3 separate regions of the Homo sapiens genome follow, and regions 1 and 2 are each linked to region 3. The links are contacts of gene promoters, found by promoter capture Hi-C in blood cells and fetal thymus (Javierre and others, 2016). All regions are on one chromosome and are shown on one strand. The core of a region is centred on a gene start or on the middle of the fragment in contact, and the rest is flanking DNA. Distances in the headings are between cores, read along the strand shown. Region 1 has its middle 93 kb from the start of EDA2R. Region 2 overlaps LAS1L (LAS1 like ribosome biogenesis factor). Region 3 holds the start of VSIG4 (V-set and immunoglobulin domain containing 4).

The links. The method cuts DNA at HindIII sites, captures the fragments that hold promoters and counts their contacts. A CHiCAGO score of 5 or more calls a contact.
Region 1: a contact is called between a fragment that was not itself captured here and the fragment with the promoter of VSIG4 in region 3, in 6 of 17 cell types (endothelial precursors, M2 macrophages, fetal thymus and 3 more). The highest score is 8.4, in endothelial precursors.
Region 2: a contact is called between a fragment that was not itself captured here and the fragment with the promoter of VSIG4 in region 3, in 4 of 17 cell types (activated CD4 T cells, non-activated CD4 T cells, monocytes and 1 more). The highest score is 7.3, in activated CD4 T cells.

What each region holds. Positions count from the first base shown.
Region 1 is chrX:66,731,028-66,734,068 of GRCh38, forward strand. No RefSeq gene overlaps it. Among named protein-coding and RNA genes, the nearest start is that of EDA2R, 93 kb to the left of the region's middle. The HindIII fragment of the contact is 1,399 bases long and covers 804-2,202 here.
Region 2 is chrX:65,521,925-65,525,048 of GRCh38, forward strand. LAS1L (LAS1 like ribosome biogenesis factor) reads right to left here. Exons shown (of 14, transcript NM_031206.7): 8 at 3,041-3,124; 9 at 2,640-2,690; 10 at 2,132-2,338; 11 at 1,636-1,783. Among named protein-coding and RNA genes, the nearest start is that of LAS1L, 11 kb to the right of the region's middle. The HindIII fragment of the contact is 4,278 bases long and covers 1-3,124 here.
Region 3 is chrX:66,038,572-66,041,789 of GRCh38, forward strand. It overlaps VSIG4 (V-set and immunoglobulin domain containing 4), which reads right to left and starts at 1,509. Exons shown (of 8, transcript NM_007268.3): 1 at 1,373-1,509. The coding sequence starts at 1,427. The HindIII fragment of the contact is 1,000 bases long and covers 1,006-2,005 here.

The DNA of each region.
Region 1 (3,041 bases), core at 253-2,752, 690 kb after region 3:
GCTTCAATAGGAACTCAGGCAGTCTAATTCCAGAGGCCATACTCTTTTAGCCCATACATTTGTGTTGTTTTGCTTTGTGACTAAAAGCCAGACTCTAGATCTAGTTTTTCTGCTGAGTTCAAATTCCAGCATTACCACTTTCTAGTTGTGTGACTTTGGGCAAGTGACTTCACCTCTCTAAGCCTCAGTTTCCTCATTTGTGAAATGGAAGAACAATAGTAAGGCTGATGTGAAGATTAAATGAGTTATTTATGTAAAATACTTACAATAATGTTTGAAACCAGGTAAGTAGTATGTAAATGTCTCAGTTCCCCAGGCAAGATTGGTGGGAAATCAAAAGTCAGTCTTTTTTTTTTTTTTTTTCCTTGCAGCTTTCTAACATTACACAGAACTGCCAGGCTTAAACCAGGTTTAAGTAGTCCAGAAAAAAAAAATGGGTTATGTAGTCTTCAGCAGTCCCTCATGGCTGCCTTCTGGTGCTCACTGGTCATGTCCCAAGTGGTCCATTTCAAGGCTTTGTAATCCTTCAGTGCCAAGTCTCTAACAGGAGCTCACAATCTGATTTATTATGCTATACTGCCCCCTTCTGTGGATTATAGGTAATCAGTAACTATAGGGCTTACAGGCTGAGTTTCTCACATGCTTAATAAATGGTAGTGATTTTGTTTTATTAGCTTTAACGCTCACTCCTATTAGCGTGACTCCCAACCCTTAATGTTACCATGAGCAAACTAAAACAGGGAATAAGGGCATCTATCAAGGGCACATAAATAGTAAGTGATGGAAGTCTGGATTTGAATTCAAGCTTTGATAATTCTCACATTCCCAACTTTTAATTTTTATTGTATGTCTCTTTTTTAAATATTTCTGAATATGATCACATATAAGGACTGTCTATTTCCTACTTTAAAATCTTTTTCTCCTTTAGGAAGTCTTCCTGTATTCTGGCATATTATATTGTACTTCTATGTTGACTATTTTTAAGTTGTTTATGGAGGCGTGTATTATCCTCTATTTTTAGGTAGCTGAATAAAAAGAATGAGTTTTCCAATTCCTTGTTGAATTGGTTTCTAGAAAAAATGCCATTTAGTGAGAATATACTAAAATTCAAGAAACTCAGTTAAAAGGAGACTGGAGAAGAGCACTGAGATAAGTAACTCATGGACCCTGGTAAAGTATACTTGATAATAATAGGTGTTTAAAAAAGTCAACATCTCAAGAGCATGATTTATTTCTTATAAAAGATTACATCCCTCACAATCTAGCTCAATGCCTTATTTATAGTAAGAACTCAGGAAATATTTGTTGAATTGCCATTTAGAGTTTGCTGATAGGCTTCAGTCAATTTCAATCAAGTAATAATATATTTCCTCTGGATAGCTAGAAATGAAAATATTCTAATAAGAAAGATTTGCAGGTCATGAAAAATTTAACCTTTTACATGCAGACTTGTATCTTCATATTTTTAATAATAAGAATCACTGCAAAGTTAATAAGACAGTTCTGGGTTTTAATGTAGTAATAATAAATATGTAATGTTATTTGATTTTTCTTATTAAAGTGAGAGTCTTCTATAAGAATAATCATGAGGCATTGATAGAGGTGGAGTCAAAGATGTACATATAGCTTTGTGTGTCACAGCACTGATCAAATAATGAGTCTGAAGCTCATTATTATCATATATCATAACTTATTTTATTTATTAATGGTTTTGCCTCTCTTCTCTAAAAATTGAGAGAGATGTGGTTAAGTATAATATGGAAGACAGTAGCATAATTGTTTTCTATTTTGTAAACTTAATGGGTAAATCAAAAGCCAAGCAGCTGTTTAAAAAGTAATAATTTTATCTTTTAGAAAATCCTTATCAATATCAGATGTAAAGCAGTGTAATGAGAAGACCACTAAACTGGGAGTCAAAAGCATTTTATTCTGGTCCCAGCTCAACTTCTTGTTTGTGTGATCCCCTACTAGTTCCATGCTCTCCTCTCTGACCTTCAGTTTTCTCGTTTGTAAAATGAAGATTACAATGCCCATAAGGTTTTAGTGAGATTCAGTGAAACTGCTTTGTCAAAGTGTTGTACAAATTAGAAATAGTGTTATAGTAAGGCATCGGTAATGTTTTCTTTTTCTTGTCAAGAGTCTTCTAATGCTATCAGTTATTTTAACATCTGTAACATAAGACACCACATCAGTATCATTGTAAGCTTTAATCTACACTTGAATCACACCGGTATTAAGTCAATTGATGATATACAAAGGAGCAGTATCCATCATCACTCCAAAAAATTGTGCTGGTACATATTGGAGAGTGCTTGCTCTTAGCGTCCAAATTTATTTTTGTAAAAAAAAAAAAAACAGACATGCCTATAAACACAACACTAAGTTAAAAATTTCTATACGCCCTAGGTTTAATATGAAAGTCTACAGCCCTTTGCCTGTTTACTTCACTACAATGTAACAGCCTTTTTTCATTTCATAAATATCCTCTCATCTAATTCCACTCTAAATAACAGTGAGTTAGAACTATAATAATTCAAAACAGATTGCAAAGATAAATGCTTGAGAGGATGGAAACCCCATTCTCCATGATGTGCTTAGTTCACACTGTATGCCTGTATCAAAATATCACATTGCCCCATAAATACAAACACCTATTATGTACCCACAAAAATTTAAACAAATACTTAAGAAAACAGATTGCAAAACTAACAGGTGTACACAAGGAATACTAACATTACTATGTAACCATCATACCTTCTGATATCCACAGTATCCTTCCTATACTAACAATTTTGTACAGCTGTCTCTATAATACAAATAATTATAGAAATACAAGTTAATTGTACTTTAACACTGCAATCATGTAGAAAAGAATAAGTCTTTTGGATATTTTGTAGTTCTTTTTTCCTCCAGATGGAGATAGTCTGGTAAGACTCCTTGCTTCATGGTAGTAATCAAGGAAGGAAGTGTAAGAACTAAGACTTAAAGGATTAATTAAACATACATAATTGGAAGAAAAGACACTTCAGGCTGAGAGAGCA
Region 2 (3,124 bases), core at 377-2,876, 520 kb before region 3:
ATGTTTTGATGGGAAGGGTGGGAATGATAAGCTGATGATAACCCAACAGAGGGATGCAGGGTCAAAGGAGATTTTGCTTGTGTTGCTGTTATTGTTGTTTTGTTTAAGATGAGAAAAGCTCAGGCACGTTCCTAGGTTGAAGAGCAAGAGCCAGCAGAGCAAGGTAGAGGCTGGGGTGAGGCCCCAGCGATGCTGGCAGAGGTGGCTCCAGAGCACAGGTGGAGGAGCAGGCTTTGAGGTGGGGCAAGGCCACCTCATCCTGAGACTGGCGAGAAGGTTGAGTGCAGCCGCAGATCAGTTCACGAGGGCTGGACCTCAGGTCGAGGGGGCCCTGCCGGATGCCTCCATGTGCTCGAGGAAGCTAGGGTGAAATGGGAGAGGGGGAGGGGCTTGAGGTGAGCGGTAAGGGTTTAGAATAGTGAGGAAATGGGAGAGAAAGTGGTCAGAAAACAAGTAAAAGTTCAGACAAGCAGAACTGAGGCCTCGCCCGAGATTAAAAATCATACCTCTGCAGTGGCAGCAATCCGCAGGGCTATGTGGTTTTCTCCAGCAGAGCTCAGCTACCCGGGCTGAGGAGCAGGGGAAGCAGAATGGGGAGGATCAATTCCAGCTCAGGGGTTTGCAAGTCAGATATGGCCAAAGGATGGGCAAAGCTGAAGGTGCTGATGATGAGTGGCCGAACTGAGCAACCACAGACAGGATAGAGAGGAAGCAAGGTCAAGGGATGCAGGAAATGGAGGGATGGAGATCTGGATGCAGGCAAAGAGCAGATGTCATGGGATGCAAGGGTGAGAACTAGAAGGACGAGAAGTGGTGGTCACCGAGTGGGATGCTGGGATGTGAGCTTTCAGAGGTGGAATAGCTCCGAATGATGGAAATGGGTTGCTGAGTGTAGTGGAGAATGAAAGTCACTGGAGTTGAGGAGCTGTAGAGTGTCAGATGAGTCATCCAAATGAAACAGATATTGCTCAAGAAAGCAAGAAGGGAATCAGGCGCTAAAGGCTTCCATGATTATGAGGGAAGTGGCTCAGGGTCAGGAAATGACAGAGAAAAGGAAAGGGAGACAACCACAGGTATTTACCAGTGCAATATTCAGTTTGACCATAGAACCCAGGGTGGATAGGGTAAAGGAGACTCACAGGAGGTATGGCTACCATGGTAAGTTGGGCCAGAATCAGAAAGATCTTTGAATGTCAGGCTAAGAAGCCTAGACTTAACAGGAAGGCAATAGGGAGCAACTGAAGGTTGCTAAGCAACTATCAGAGGTATACTTTGGAAAGATAATAGAGGAAACAGCACTGGGCTTGGAGTCAGAAGACCTGGGTTCAATAATAAACAGCAGCTACCATTTATTGTGCACTTACTCTGTGCAGGCCACTGTGCTAAGCACTCTAGGGGGATTGTCTTATCCATTCCCACACTGGACTCAGTTCAGTCAGGTCTTAAGCTGTATGATCTTAGGTAAGAAAACCCTACCCCTCCCCTCTCTGGACTCAGTTGTCCCATCTGTCAGTGGGAGTGAGACTGGGCTAGACTGTCCCCAAAGGGCCCTTCTAACTCAGTCATTCTAGGGCAGTGTGGCCCTGAGGCTTGAAGGGCCTCACCCTCTTACCGGATGGAATTCAAGAGACTTACATCCGAAGGAGTTGGGGGCTGGCCCAGCAAGGTGAGCCCAAGCAGGACTCAACCATCCGGGGCCAGTCAAGGGAGGCGGAGCAGTTGAACAGCCTCCAGCCCCTTCTTGCTTCCCACTGGCCTGCAGAAAATCGGCGAGCATTCCGTCCTGAGAGAGAAGAGAGGATCTAAGGAGAAGGAAGCAGTGAGCCCCCCACCCAACATTTCACCTCAGAAAGTTTGGCTCTGTCCCTCCCCATCCCCCCAGACTCCCCACCTATACCTCCCAACTGCTCAAAGAATTCAGGGCACTTTGCCCCAGCCCAGTTTAGTTGGCTCTGAGAAGAAAAGGAAAAGGGAGATTTGTCCACTGCTGCCGTGGGGCCCTCTTGGGCAAACCTAAACCTTTAACACGGGAGGTGTTTGCCTGGTGCTTCTTAGCAGAGAGCTGAGGACAGTGGCAGAGGCTCCTGCCTGGGCTGCCTTAGGCCCTAGGGCTAGGGCTAGTCTCCCTCACCAGTCTTGGTGTTGGCCACGATCAGTTCAACGGTCCATCTGAGGATGTAGGTAGGCCGGATCCCGCTGATCCCCAAGGCTGGCAGTTCAGAGAGCATCCTCTCCAATAGGGCCTGCGTGAAGTTCTGGGAGTGCAGGCCCCTGAGCAGGGGCTGCCAGAACTGAGAGAACGGCTTTGGCACCAGGACGTCATTCAAGTCCACGTTTTCTGGTTTGTAAGGGACACCCATTTGGGGGGGCAATAGGAGAGAGAGAGCAGGAGAGCACGAAAGAGAGAGCAAGAGACAGCAAGAGAAAGGAAGTGAGAGTGAGAGCAAGAGAATGTGTGCGCGCGCATGAGCCAAGCCCCCCACCAACAACAGAGTTGCCACCGCAGAACAAAGGAAAGAGGAGAGCAGAACAGTGGGGAGAGAGAAACCAGTTAGTATCTGGCAACCAACAACTGACTCAAAATAAAGTATAAACAAAACAGAGATCTGGTTCTAGCTTCAGCTTTGTCAATAACTCACTGTGTGACTTTGGGTCAGTACCTTCCCCTCTCTGGACCTCAGTCTGACCATCTGTAACATGAGGATGTTGGACTAGATGACCTCACAAGGCCCCTCCAATTCTGCTGTTCTAGCTCTCTAGCTAGCAGCTAAATCACAACGAACATGGCACAATAATGTCATTAAGACTCCCCGACCCCACCCCATCCCACCCCACCCCATTCCAGAGCACTTAAGGGCAGCCCCACAACTGTCAGTGGGGCTACCTGTTCTGCTCAGCCAGGAAGGCTGAGGGACTTTCAGAGGCCATGGAATGGCAGGAAACAGCCTTCACACCCCAACCCAGGGCCCCCCAGCCCACCCCAGCTGTTTCCACCCAGGAATCAGAACCCTAAGGGTGCAGTGAGCCCCCAGAACCCTACCTTCATATTCTATCTGCAAAGCTGCCAACTGTTCAAATGTGGGGACAAGGAAGCCATCATCCAGAAAAGCATCCAGCACAGCCT
Region 3 (3,218 bases), core at 259-2,758:
CCTCAAGCCCCAGGCTTAAGCCCTAGCTCAAACCAACAGACTTGGAGAAGGTAGAGAGATACATTATAAAACCTGCTAGAGAATGGAAATGTGGTAGTTATAGAAAGAAAAATGTTTTTTCAGGAGCATTAACTCTGCCACTAATGCTCTTTGGCTTGGGGGCAAATTATTTTTTCTCTTGGTTGACTTAATTCAGAGTCTTTTCTAACTCTGAGGTTCCAGAGTGTGATGGGTCACAGAGCCCCAGGATAGGGTAACCTAATCAGAGTCAGCTACGGAAAGCTGGATTCTTTCTGACCTAACAAGTGACACCAAGCTAACACCTATCCAGCCTTTTTCTCTAGGGATGATAGGGAAGCAGCAAAATCCCCCTTTACCCTATATTGGATCTCACTTAGCTGTTACCCAGGTTGAGTTTCCTGAAAATCCATCTCACTTCTCAGGAGTGTAGATGAGGATAGAGCTTCCCAAGCTCCAAGGAAATAATGCCACTATGGAATAGTCCATCCTCCTTTGGGATTTGTATCCAGCCCATAAATAGCCCAGACAAATTGAGCCATGTCTATAGGGAAGTGAGTTATCCCAGGAATGGGTAAGAAACCAAGTCCTATGAAGACCAGTTGAAAAAGCTGGGGCTGTTCAGCTTGGAGGAGAGAAGAGTCAAGGAGACATAGTACTTGTCCTCAGGGCTTTGAAGGGCTATCACAGGGCAAGGAAGCATCTATGTTCTGTGTAGCCCCAAGAAGCAAAGCTGGGGTTTTTGGATGGAAGTCAGAGGGAACTGGATTTAGTTCAACACAAATAAGAACTTTCTAACAGTTGGAGCTGCTCCTGGATGGACTAGATGGTCTGGGGAGGTAGTGAACAGTGAAATCTCAATCACTACTGGATGTTTCTGAGCACTTATTCATGACAATGAAGGGTGGTATAGGTTACTTCTATAGTCCTATCCAACTCTTAGAAAACACTCCTTCTTCGGGGGCTGTATATTTTAACAGAGACCAAAGCTTGGAAGCAGAGTGGTTAAGTCCAATTGTAGAATTTTAGATGAGAGACAGCAGATGGAGGAAAGATTCGGATGTCATTGGGAACCTTCTTGATGCCCCTGAGATACAAGCCCTAGAAAATAATGCAGATGTTTTCCAAGAGAAAAATCCTTTTTCAATTTCTGCCCAAACTTGCCTTCTGGCTTCTTCAGCAGCCTTCAACTACATCCATCCGTTTTGCTCAAGGCTGAGAGAGCCTGCAGAGTTTGGCTGAGAAGACTCACCTGCCCAGTAGGAATAGGCTTTCCATAGTAGACATTAAACACCAACCCTCTAGCCTTTTGCCTAAGCCAGCAATGGCAGCCAGGCCCCCCTTTCTGCCTTACCATAAGTGTCCACTGTTAGGTGCCCCAGGAGTAGCAGGCCCAGTAAGATCCCCATCACAGCCAGAGCTACTTCTGTCCTTTCTTCCAGCCTCCTGCTACCAAAGAGGCTCAAACTTCTGGTGGCCGCCAGCGTCTGTGACTGCTTACTTCCCTTCCTTCCCTATATCTCTCACTCAAACTCCTAGTCCCATCACACATTCCCCTTCCTTCCCTATTTCAGTACAGGTCATGTGGGGTGCCCCCCTTCCCCCACCTCCTTGGGGTTGGAGGTTCCAGGATGAGTGAAGCAATTCTTCCCCCTGCTAGGGTATTGACTTGACTTTCCTTGGAGCCAATGGGGCTTTCTGGTCTTTGATCTCCTAGGCTGTATTTATTTTGAGTCTCCTCCACAAGATTCAGAGGTTGTGGGGGCGACCTTTGGGATGAGTCTTCCCACTCCAGTATGGCGGTGTTTTCCTTTGTGGTGAGCCCAGGGAGAAGAGATCAACTTTGCTGACCTACCCAATTTTCATTAGTTGTACTGTTAACCCTTGCCTGTGCAGCCTATGCAACTGGACAGGGTGTTGGGCCCGGGGTGCTTTTGGGCTTAAGAGTACAAGAGTTTAGTGTATTAAAGGGCTTTCTACACATCAAAGCTTGAATAATTGACAAGCCAATGGATAAGGCTGTTATGGGTGAATATGCCTCATATCTCATATTGGGGAAGCTCTTTGAATCACTTTCTACAATGGCTCCACCTCTCTGATGGTAAGGGAGAATTCATTTTCATTAATGTTCTCCATGCTTTTTCATAAGGAATTTATTTTTTACTTCTTTTAAGGGAAATTTAAGCCTAGCCTCCAGTGCAGCAGCCCATTAGTGGTATGCTGTATTAGGTTGAATTTTTCATTGACTTCCAATTGGTACAGGCCCTTGACCTACAAGAGAGTAATATTATGCCTCCTAGCAAAGCTCAACTGCTCCAGAAATTGCTCCTCTTCACAGGCCCCAGAGTGACTGTAATTTCATCAGCAGTCTAACTAGGTTTGGCACTGCGCTTTGTCTACTAAGCTTTGAAACAATAAGCACTTTCAAAAGCACAAATACATCCCAAAAATTCATACTGCACTGTAAGTAACAGCTAAGCTTAGTTTACTCTTTGATTGGAGGGATAGGAAAGGACTTGGTCAGGGGAGGGAGGAGTTTGTGCAGAGATGGGGAGTGGGAATATAAAGAAACATACTTGCCAAGGGGTGGCTGCATGCAGATGATTTGGAGCTGTGCACGGGCTAAGGAGACATTCCAGCATTTCAGGACACATTATTACATGGAATTCTATCAATCACCTCTGCCTCTAGGGCCCAATCCCCCTTGGCTGGTTGTTCCTTGTTTTTTGAGTACTGCACTCATTCCATCTCACTGGAAATTTCAGCCATTTTTTCCCACCGGGTCCTCACTCAGGAAACCCTGAACTTCACAGAACCCTCCTTTGATATTTTTCAACCAACACCCTATCACCACTACACCACCACCACCGCACAGACACACACACACACACACACACACACACGCACACACATACACACACACACACCCCTCCCCTTCCCCGCTAAAAAGCCCACTGGACAGATGTAAATTTCTGCCTGGCCAGGTGATTGTGTGTTTTGTGCTACCTCTTGCATTTTATTAGGACCTCCTGGATCTGAAGATAAATAAATGTCCTGGGGAGTATGCACAACATTACTTCAAGGCTGGGAAAGACTTCCAGTCTTGCAGTAGGCTCAGTAGCCCTCTTGATTAGTAAAAGAATTGGATGAGAAGTCAGAAACCTGGAGATAAGCCTGGCTCTGTGTCTACTTCATTCTGA